Regions from separate parts of the Homo sapiens genome. Here regions 1 and 2 are each linked to region 3. The links are contacts of gene promoters, found by promoter capture Hi-C in blood cells and fetal thymus (Javierre and others, 2016). All regions are on one chromosome and are shown on one strand. The core of a region is centred on a gene start or on the middle of the fragment in contact, and the rest is flanking DNA. Distances in the headings are between cores, read along the strand shown. Region 1 overlaps PRPSAP2 (phosphoribosyl pyrophosphate synthetase associated protein 2). Region 2 has its middle 7.1 kb from the start of PRPSAP2. Region 3 holds the start of FAM83G (family with sequence similarity 83 member G).

The links. Contacts are between HindIII fragments. The CHiCAGO score rates a contact against its expected background, and 5 or more counts as called.
Region 1: a fragment that was not itself captured here is called in contact with the fragment with the promoter of FAM83G in region 3 in 2 of 17 cell types (naive CD4 T cells and total CD4 T cells); the score reaches 7.1 in naive CD4 T cells.
Region 2: a contact is called between a fragment that was not itself captured here and the fragment with the promoter of FAM83G in region 3, in 6 of 17 cell types (activated CD4 T cells, total CD4 T cells, non-activated CD4 T cells and 3 more). The highest score is 7.6, in activated CD4 T cells.

Annotation. Positions count from the first base shown.
Region 1 is chr17:18,872,518-18,875,943 of GRCh38, reverse strand. It overlaps PRPSAP2 (phosphoribosyl pyrophosphate synthetase associated protein 2), which reads right to left. Exons shown (of 12, transcript NM_002767.4): 5 at 3,295-3,361. Among named protein-coding and RNA genes, the nearest start is that of PRPSAP2, 16 kb to the right of the region's middle. The HindIII fragment of the contact is 1,519 bases long and covers 762-2,280 here.
Region 2 is chr17:18,849,426-18,852,660 of GRCh38, reverse strand. No RefSeq gene overlaps it. Among named protein-coding and RNA genes, the nearest start is that of PRPSAP2, 7.1 kb to the left of the region's middle. RefSeq lists an enhancer at 2,455-2,514. The HindIII fragment of the contact is 4,259 bases long and covers 1-3,235 here.
Region 3 is chr17:19,002,964-19,006,474 of GRCh38, reverse strand. FAM83G (family with sequence similarity 83 member G) reads left to right here and starts at 1,711. Exons shown (of 6, transcript NM_001039999.3): 1 at 1,711-1,766; 2 at 2,306-2,955. The coding sequence starts at 2,434. The region is part of intron 9 of SLC5A10 (solute carrier family 5 member 10); the gene reads right to left. RefSeq lists silencers at 1-19, 1,540-1,839. The HindIII fragment of the contact is 3,596 bases long and covers 266-3,511 here.

The sequences.
Region 1 (3,426 bases), core at 272-2,771, 130 kb after region 3:
CAGGCTGGTCTTGAACTCCCGACCTCAGGTGATCTGCACGCCTGGGGCCTCCCAAAGTGGTGGGATTACAGGCTTTTTTTTTTTTTTTTTGAGACAGAGTCTCACTCTATCACCCAGCCTGGAGTATAGTGGCGCCATCTTGGCTCACTGCACCCTCTGTCTCCTGGGTTCAAGCGATTCTCATGCCTCAGCCTCCCAAGTAGCTGGAATTAGAAGCGCATATCACCACGCCCAGCTAATTTTTGTATTTTCAGTAGAGACAGGGTTTCACCATGTTGGCCAGGCTGGTCTTGAACTCCTGATCTGCCCGCCTCGGCCTCCCAAAGCTCTGGGATTATAGGTGTAAGCCACCTCGCCCAGCCTTTTTTTTTTTTACTTCGAGATGGAGCCTTGTTCTTTTACCCAGGCTGGAATCCAGTGGCGTGATCTCAGCTCACTACAACCTCTGCCTCCTGCGTTCAAGCAATTCTCGTGCCTCAGCCACCTGAGTAGCTGGGACTACAGGCGCTCATGACCATGCCCAGCTAATTTTTTGTATTTTTAGTAAAGACAGGGTTTCACCGTGTTGGCCTGGCTGGTCTCAAACTCCTGGCCTCAACTGATATGCCCACCTCGACCTCCCAAAGTGCTAGGATTACAGGCATGAGCCACCACATCTGGCCCTCAACACTAAATGTTATTTCATGGTATTTCACAAAGAAGACCATGACGTCCAGACTCTGCAACATGGACAAGACTGAGAACCCGAGTTAACACAAGCTTATGTCAGGTATGGAACAATGCAAAATGAGACACGGAGAGAAAATGAAAGGGGTGCTGAGTGATTCTGATTAGAGGAATATGAAACTGACAAAAGACAGGGGCACAGGATAAGTATTGAAATGTACAAAAATAAACAACCAGAAGGACTTGAAAATGAGAAGGATCAGCAGTCACCCTTCTGAAGTCCTAAATTCTAAGTCCAGGGGTGCCCTCAATGCCTACCCATCCCCTTGGGTAATCCACACAACCTCTGTGCATTTATCCAATGGAATCACACTTGTCTGTAAGGACATAAAAGTACCACAGACACAGAAACCAAGGAGCCAGAAGCCGTTTAAGTTGTTCTGTGCCCGCCCCTTCCCTACCCCGATGCTGGAGGTAAAGGGTTAAGATGTGGGCACAGGTGAGTCCTCCACTTCCACCCTGGTTTGGTGGCAGACGTGGGAAAGGGGAAAGAGGACAGCAGCAGCAGGGGCAGTTGGCGCTCCGTGCCCCCACCTCCAGCTCTGCTGAGAATCCTGGGTGTCACAGCAGAAGGTGAAGCTAGGGCACCGTGGCAAAGGCCCTCCACACCCTTCCTCCTTCAGAGCACACCCGTTTGCCAGGGCTATAGGATGCAAGGACAGGTCTCCCCTGCCACTCCTCTTCCCAGGAGAGATGGGGGTTTTGTGACTTCATCCCAATAAACCAAAGACCAGGAGAGAAAATGTTCAAAATTTAGGTGAAAAAAATGTGTGTTCCAAGACTAAAGTCTCCCGAAATGGCCTTCTTTTTCCCTTTCGTTGGTTTTATATATGTATATACACAAATTAAGCATGCAGCAACTTTCAGACTCTCTAAGCTAAAAAATAATGCACTAGACAAACTGATTTCTAGACATTAAAAATTGTTCTGAGCGAAGAACTTCATACACAGAAGCATTTAGGGACATTTGTGGACAAACACACAATGGAAAGTGGGGCTTTAAGGCCAGGTGTGATAGGCTCACCTTCTATATTGCTGGAATCTCAGCAATATAGGAGGTCAAGGCAGGAGGATCACTTGAGGCCAAAAGTTTGAGACCAGCTGGGCAATACAGTGAGACCTCCATCTCTACAAAAAATGAAAAAACGAGGTGAGCATGCTGGTGCATGCCTGTAGTCCCAGCTACTTGGGAGGCTGAGGGAGGAGGATAGTTTGAGCCCAGGAGTTTGAAGTTGTAGTGAGTTATGATCTCACCACTGCACTCCAGACTGGACAACAGAGCAAGACTCTACCTCTTAGAAAAAAGAAAAAGAAAAAAAAAAAGTAGGGCTCCAGGTGATCACCCTCCCTTCCAGAGTGCCAGAGACAGCCTTGCTGCATTGAATCTTCTATACCTAGCTTAAACATATGTGACCAAACAATTTCCAGAACACAGGTGTGTCAAAGGTCACACCAGACAGGAATACACATTCCTTCAGTACAGTTTTTTATCCTCTCAGCTAATTTATGTAATAAAACAGTAAATAATGATCACTTTTATATGCAATAAAAGCTTAAAGAACCCCAACTAAGAAAGGTCTCCTCCCCTAGCCTCTGTTTCTTTTGGGGAGAGGAGGGAACTAGAAATGCTTCCTTGCAAGTTTTACAAAATTCTGGCTGTTAATTGTTAGGAAACTTAATGTATACTATTATCATTAACAGCCTCTACTCCAGGCTGGGCGCAGTGGCTCACGCCTGTAATCCCAGCACTTTGGGAGGCTGAGGCAGGTGGATCACCTGAGGTCGGGAGTTCAAGACCAGCCTGACCAACATGGAGAAACCCTGTCTCTACTAGAAACACAAAATTAACCGGGCGTGGTGACACATGCCTATAATCCCAGCTGCTCAGGAGGCTGAGGCAGAATTGCTTGAACCTGGGAAGCAGAGGTTGCGGTAAGCTGAGGTTGCGGTAAGCCGAGATCGCGTCATTGCACTCCAGCCTGGGCAACAAGAGTGAAATTCTGTCTCAAAAAAAAAAAAAAAAAAAGAGCCTCTACTCCAATACTTGGTTATTTCCACCCGTTAAGAACACTGAGTGGCTGGACACGGTGGCTCATACCTGTAATCCCACCACTTTGGTAGGCCGAGGCGGGCAGATTGCGTGAGGTCAGGAGTTCAAGACCAGTCTGGCCAACATGGTGAAACCCCGTCTCTACTAAAAATACAAAAATTAGCCAGGCGTGGTGGCGCCAACTGTAGTACCAGCTACTCGGGAGGCTGAGGCAAGAGAATCACTAGAACCTGGGAGGAGGTGGTTACAGTGAGCTGAGATTGCACCACTGCACTCCAGCCTGGGTGAAGGAGTGGGACTTTGTCTCAAAAAAAAAAAGAAAGAAAGAAGGAAAAACACTGAAAGAACATGTAAAAGTCAGCAGTTATGTCAGAAAACTTAGTTTTCTAAATTCTAAATTGGTAAGATATACTAATTTTAAGACTATTATAACTCTTCCTGGCTAGCCATCTATCATTATTTTAAACACTCATGCCTAAACTGAAACCCAGAAAGCAACACTTTTGCTGGATACTCACTTCGAAACAGTTTGGATGATGAAAACATCTTTTCCCCTCACAGACTCTTGAATTTGTACTCTTGTTTCTGGCAGGAAAAGGAAAAAGAAGAGAGGGAAAGGCATATAGTTCAAATTTTTCAAAATACACAAA
Region 2 (3,235 bases), core at 514-3,013, 150 kb after region 3:
GAGGAGGCTGAGGCAGGAGAATCGCTTGAACCCAAGAGGCAGAGGTTGCAGTGAGCCAAGATCACACCATTGCACTCCAGCCTGGGCGACAAAAGTGAAACTCTTTCAGAGATTCAAAATAAATAAATAAATTAAAAATAAAATAAAATTACTTGTCCAAATCAGGCTGCCTGTAGCTACCCTGGCTGCCTTGCTAGCTGACTTTTACCTCCATTCATTTACTCAACAAATATCAATAAAGTACTTAACTCATGCCAGGCCCAGTGCTGAGGGTTGGGGCTACAGCTGGGAATGGCAAAGCACCCACCTCATACAGTGACCATAGTAGATGATCCACTGCATGCTAAGAGTTTAACAAAGTCCTGCTTTAGTATCCAATAAGCTATACTAGGTAGGTTAAATATTTATAATATATATGCTCTCTGGATATATAAGGAGTTTTGGGCCGGGCACGGTGGCTCATGCCTGTAATCCCAGCAGTTTGGGAGGCCGAGGAGGGTGGATCACCTCAGGTCAGGAGTTCGAGACCAGCCTGACCAACATGGAGAAACCTCGTCTCTACTAAAAATACAGAATTAGCCGGTCGTGGTGGCACATGCCTGTAATCCCAGCTACTCAGGAGGCTGAGGCAGGAGAATTGCTTGAACCCGGGAGGCGGAGGTTGTGGTGAGCCAAGATCACGCCATTGCACTCCAGCCTGGGCAACAAGAGTGAAACTTGGTCTGAAAAAGAAAAAAAAAAAAACAGAAGGAGTTTTGTAGACCCGGCACAGTGGCTTACGCCTATAATCCTAGCATTTTGGGAGGCTGAGGCAGGCAGATCACCTGAGGTCAGGAGTTCAAGACCACCCTGGCCAACATGGTGAAACCCTGTTTCTACTAAAAATACAAAAATTAGGCGGGCGTGGTGGTGCATGCCTATAATCTCAGCTACCCAGGAGGCCGAGGCAGGAGAATCACTGGAACCAGGGAGGCAGAGGCTGCAGTGAGCTAAGCTGAGATCCTGCCACTCCAGCCTGGGCAACAGAGCGAGACTCCGTCTAAAAATATATATATATATTAGCATTAGCATTACCATTTTAGCTGTACAACCTTAGAAGTCATTTCTCTCTGTTAGTTTCCTCATCTGTAAATGGGCTAATGCCACCTACTTCATGTCACTATTGAGGTGGATGGAGTAGAATAACATATTTATGGTAATGTCAATAAACCAAAGCCACAGCAAGGTTGGCACGGCCCACACACAGGCCCCCGTGGCAGCCTCCTCCTCCTGGTGGCAGCACCTAGCCAAGATCTGGGCTTTGAGCCCTTTGCCCACACCCTACTCTCAACAGCTTTCTCCTGGGCACTACTGGTGACACTGTGCTGGCTCACAGCAGCACCCCACCCACCAGGACTTTTTTTTCATTTCCATAATTGGAAAGTGCAGAATCAGGGACTGATGATCCCCCGGTAAATTACCCCCCAACTCAACTTTATCGGGTCTCTCCCTGCCAAAGACAGGCATCGCCAAGGCCTCTAGCCCGAATCATAACAAACACTCTCCAAACCTTGTATCTCTGGCTCAGCCTCTCTAAATCCCTCCCTTAAGCTGGAGGGAGGAGCACCCTAAGCCAAACTTCGGGCCCACTGATCTCCTCCCCTACCTACACTGCCCTGCCCCAGCTGGAGAGCCCCTATGCCACTGTCCTGCAAGCAGTTTTTCCTTCCCCCTTCACTGGAAGCACCTCCTAGGGAGGCCTAAGGACTGGGGCCTGGTGGTGCTGAGGCCTGCCTTGGTGGCTTTGCTTCCTGGGGCCTCCAGGGGGTAAGGCTGGTGTACCTCCTTCTGAAGCATTCAAATCTTGCATTTGCTTGAAATCTTAGTAAATGGAAGGCTTTCCCCATTCACATTCTATCATAAGTATTTGTATTAGTCAGGACTTTTGCAATAAAACTCAGCTTGAACCAGCTAAATGTAAAGGGAAAGGGGCTAACTGAGGAGGGGTGAGGCTGACTTCCACAGCTAAAAAGCCCAGGGGACAGCTTCGTATGGCTAGATCCAGTGCTCCACTATCTCCAGGGTTTTGTCTTTCTTTGGTGATTTTATTCTCAGGCAAGCTCTGCCCAGTAATGCCAACAGGGCCACCAGCACTTGGAGGCCCCTATGGCACTTCATTCTGTGAACTCAGTAAGAAAGAGGCCCTACCCCACCAGCGTCCTTTGCAATGTCCAGTGAAGGACTCTGATGTCATATGTACACACAGGTATCTCACACATACATGAAGACATCACTCACACTCAAATGTTCCCCATGTGGATGACACATACATTCACAAATCACACACACTCATACATCACACACACATCCAGCTGTCTCTCACACAGGTGTGACTCAATATTCACACATGGCTGGGCATGGTGGCTCATGCCTGTAATCCCAGCACTTTGGGAGGCTGAGTCAGGCAGATCTCTTGAGCTCACGAGTTCAAGACTAGCCTGGGCAACGTGGTGAAACCCCATCTCTACAAAAAATACAAAAAATTAGTCAGGCGTGGTGGCACACGCCTGTAGTTCCAGCTACTCATCTGCCCCTGATTCTGCACTTTCCAATTATGGAAATGAAAAACAAGTCCTGGCGGGTGGAGTGCTGCTGTGACTCAGCAAGTATCACCAGTAGTGCCCAGGAGGATGGCTCGGGAGGATGGCTTGAGCCTGAGAAGTGGAGCTTGCAGTGAGCTGAGATTGCACCACTGCACTCCAGCCTGGGCGGCAGAGCCAGACCTTGTCTCAAAAAAAATAAAAAAATAAATAAAAAATAAATAAATAAATAAATAAAAATCTCTCCCCCTTAGATGTTACAGACCTGCAAACGGCCACCCTCAGAGGCCTAACTCACCCAGATTTAGTTGATATGCCACTTTTTTAAGGAACACACCTACCTCTTACCTAACACATCGCTTCTTTTTTTGTTTTGTTTTGTTTTTTGAGACAGAGTCTCGCTCTGTCACCCAGGCTGGAGTGTAGTGGCGTAATCTTAGCTCACCGGAACCTCTACCTCCCGGGTTCAAGCTATTTCTCCTACCTCAGCCTCCCGAATAGCGGAGATTACAGGCATGCGCCACCACGCCCAGCTAATTTTATATTTTTAGTAGAGACAGAGTTTCTCCATGTTGGTCAGGCTGCTCTTGAACTCCCGACCTCAGATGATCCGCCCACTTCGGCCTCTCAAAATGCTGGGATTACAGGCATGAGCC
Region 3 (3,511 bases), core at 462-2,961:
TTGAGGCCAGGAGTTTGAGACCAGTCTGAGCAACATAGTGAGGCCTTGTCTCTACAAAAAAAAAAAAAAAAGAAAAAAGAAAAAAGAAAAAAAATTAGCTGGGCATGGTGTCTCTGGTCCCAGCTACTCAGGAGGCTGAGGCTTGAGCCCAGGAGTTCAAGGCTGCATTGAGCAATGATTGTACATACCACTGCACTCCAGCCTAGGTGACAGAGCAAGACCCTGTCCCAAAACAAACAAAAAACTGGTGAAATCTAAATAAGCTTTGTGGATTGCACCAGTGTCAATTTTCTGGCTGTGATATTATTGTATTATAGTTATGCAAAACGTCGCTACTGGGGAAAACTGGGTGCATACAACCTTCCTGCTCATCAACTGCAGAAGTGTTGGGGTGGTGGAGGTGGGAGTGAGGCCTTGGACTCCCTTCCTGAACTCTCCAGCCTCTGTGCATTGGTAAGAACACAGGGAGAAGCTGAGGCGGCTCAGAGAAGGTCTTACAGGGGATCCACAGTAGCAGAGGGGCTATAAATGGGTCTTCAGGACCCTCAAGGCAGGGCTCCCCCGCTGGGATCACCTCCCCTCTCTGGCCCTGGGGCAGGAGGAGGATGCAAATATGTGTGCCTGTTCCCCAGGGGCCACTATGTTCAGTAGCATAAAGCCCTTGGGGGGCTATATGGCAGAGTGTAGGACTTCATGCTTGAGGGGTCAGTGATGGGGACCACAAGGATGCTGGGCCTAGGAGGCTAGTCATTGCCCAGGGCAGTGGACTCAGAGGCAAGGAGTCCTGATGGGCCATGAATGGTGGAGAAGGCCTTGGAGGGGGGGGGTTTGAGGGCACAAGGCCTAGAGATGTCACCAGCCTACGGAAGCAGCATCCTTACGGGACCCAAACCAGCCCCATCCAGATCCAGAGCAAGTATGGGGGATGGGAGGAAGGGCTGGGCCTGGTGCCGGGCAGACTGGCTGCGGCACGCGATGGGGTGGGGGCTGTTTGTTGGGCCAGATTTAATGGGCTTTGCTGTCCCACCCTCAAAGCCTGCCTTCAGATGTGGTCTCCACGCTCCCCATAACCAGGGTCCCAACCCCAGGGGACGCTCAGCAGAGAGCTGGGCCTGACCCCAGCCCACAGCGGCCCTCTTGGCCCCTCCCTGCCCTAGGGTTCAGGTCGGGTGCTGCCCGCCACGCAGAAGCAGTCCGGGGACCCCTCCCAGAGGGGATCAGGGCTTAGGACTGAGAACTGGGTATCTGCTCAGGAAAGCCCTGAGTTTGGGTCAGTCAGTGCCCTATCCCTGCCTGGGGGCTCCCAGCCCAGTACCCTAGACCTGTTTCCACAACTGGACAGCTGGGTATCTATACAGCCGCACGGACTTCCCGCCACGCCGGCGAAACTGGGCACAGCCAGGGTTGATCCAGGATCACCAACAGACCCTGGGGGCACAGGGGGGTGCCAAGGCTGTTGACCCGCTGTGTGACCTCAGGGAGAACACTGTCCCTCTCTGGGATGGGTGTTCCAGGAGCTCTTGGGCTTAGGCCTCTGATATTTTCGGAATTCGGGCACCAGGGGACCGTGGGCAGTGCGTCCGCCCCAGGTCTGTCTGTCTGTCGAGGGGTGAATCAGCTTCCGGCCCCGCCCCGGGCGGCACGTGACCGCAGGTGGCGGCGGCGGGGTAAGCGGGGCGGCCCTGAGTCACCGGCGCGCCCCCGCCCAGCCTCGCGCCGCCGCCGCAGCCGCCGCGTGTGCGCCCCGCTCCGCCAGCGCCCGCTCGGTAAGCAAGTCCCGGCCGCGCCCCCCGGATCCCGGGTCTCGCGGGGCGTCGCCGCCCCGCAACCGCGTTTCTGGGTCTCCTGGACCCCTCCCAGAGCCCCAGCCTCCTCCGGGCAGGCCTCCTGGGTTGCCGGCACCCGGAAATTTTAAGACCCCTCCCTTACCCGGAAGCCCTCGGTTTGCGGGGCGCCTCTGTGCCGGGGCCGCCTCCCACTCTAAGAAGCTACTGGGAAGTTCCCCGGCTGCCCTAGTTTCCCTCAGAAGTTGCGAGGACTTCAGGCAGCTCCGGAAATCTGGGATATGGGTTCCCTGCACGTAGAGGCACGCTGAGCCCTGGGACGTGGCCCACCGCTCCCTCACCGCTGTTCCGATCCCTTACTTTCTTCCCATCCCAGTCCAGTGCCCCCACCTCATCTTCCCAGCCCCAGCCCCAGCCCCGTCCTTCCCACGCCCACCTGAGTTCCCGGCCCCGCCCCCGCCGCCCCTCCCCGCGCGGCCCGCCCTCCCCGCCGAGCCGGGCTCATCAGGTCTTTCCCGCAGATTGCTCATGGGCAGAGAAGCAGAGGCCGCGGAGAGGCCCCCGAGCGCGCGGTGCCCCAGCTGGGCCGGAGCTAGGAGCTGGACCTTGCCCACCCACCCCCGGCAGCAGTGCCCGGGCAGGCGGCGCCATGGCCTTCTCTCAGGTGCAGTGTCTGGACGACAACCATGTGAACTGGCGCTCCAGCGAGTCCAAGCCTGAGTTCTTCTACAGCGAGGAGCAGCGGCTGGCGCTGGAGGCCCTGGTGGCCCGCGGCCGGGACGCCTTCTACGAGGTGCTCAAGCGGGAGAACATCCGAGACTTCCTCTCGGAGCTGGAGCTCAAGCGCATCCTGGAGACCATCGAGGTGTACGACCCGGGCTCTGAGGACCCTCGGGGCACGGGCCCCTCTCAGGGGCCCGAGGACAATGGGGTCGGCGACGGCGAGGAAGCCAGCGGGGCGGATGGGGTCCCCATCGAGGCCGAGCCGCTGCCCTCCCTGGAGTACTGGCCCCAGAAGTCGGACCGCTCCATCCCGCAGCTGGACCTGGGCTGGCCCGACACCATCGCCTACCGCGGCGTGACCCGGGCTAGCGTCTACATGCAGCCCCCCATAGACGGGCAGGCCCACATCAAAGAGGTGGTGCGGAAGATGATCAGCCAGGCACAGAAGGTGAGGCAGCGCGGGGACTCCTGGAGCCATGGCCCAACCAGCCACCGGACCCCTCTCAATACAGGCTCACTCAGAGCCCAAAACGGGAGCCCAACATGGGCTTCTAGGGATCTCTGCTGTTTTCCCTGGCTGCCTCTTGGGTGGAGGTTTCCTCCCCACCTTCGTGGGGATCCGCAGTTTCTTTGCAGGGTAGGGTTCCCAGGTCCTAGCAGGTGACAGTGGGCTGCCCCGTCTCAAAGGGCCTCTTTATTGTTGGAGGGTGTTTCTGGTTCCCCAGAAGAAGGCACCGAGATAGGGTGGAGTGGGGAGGGGAGGAACCCCAGGGCTTCCTCTCACTCTCCCTTAGAGTGGCTCTGATTCACTGTAAAGGCGCGCACACACCATGAGCTCTCTGGTGGGGAGAGCTTTTGTTGTGGGGTGAGGGAATAGGCATGGTCCAAGTCCATCTGAGACTGGCCTGGAGGTCCTTGTTCAACACTGCCTGTTTCCTAGCTGTGCTGAGCAACTGGGAGCAGATTGCACACCCTCTCTGAGCCTCTTTGTGAGCTTTGCAATG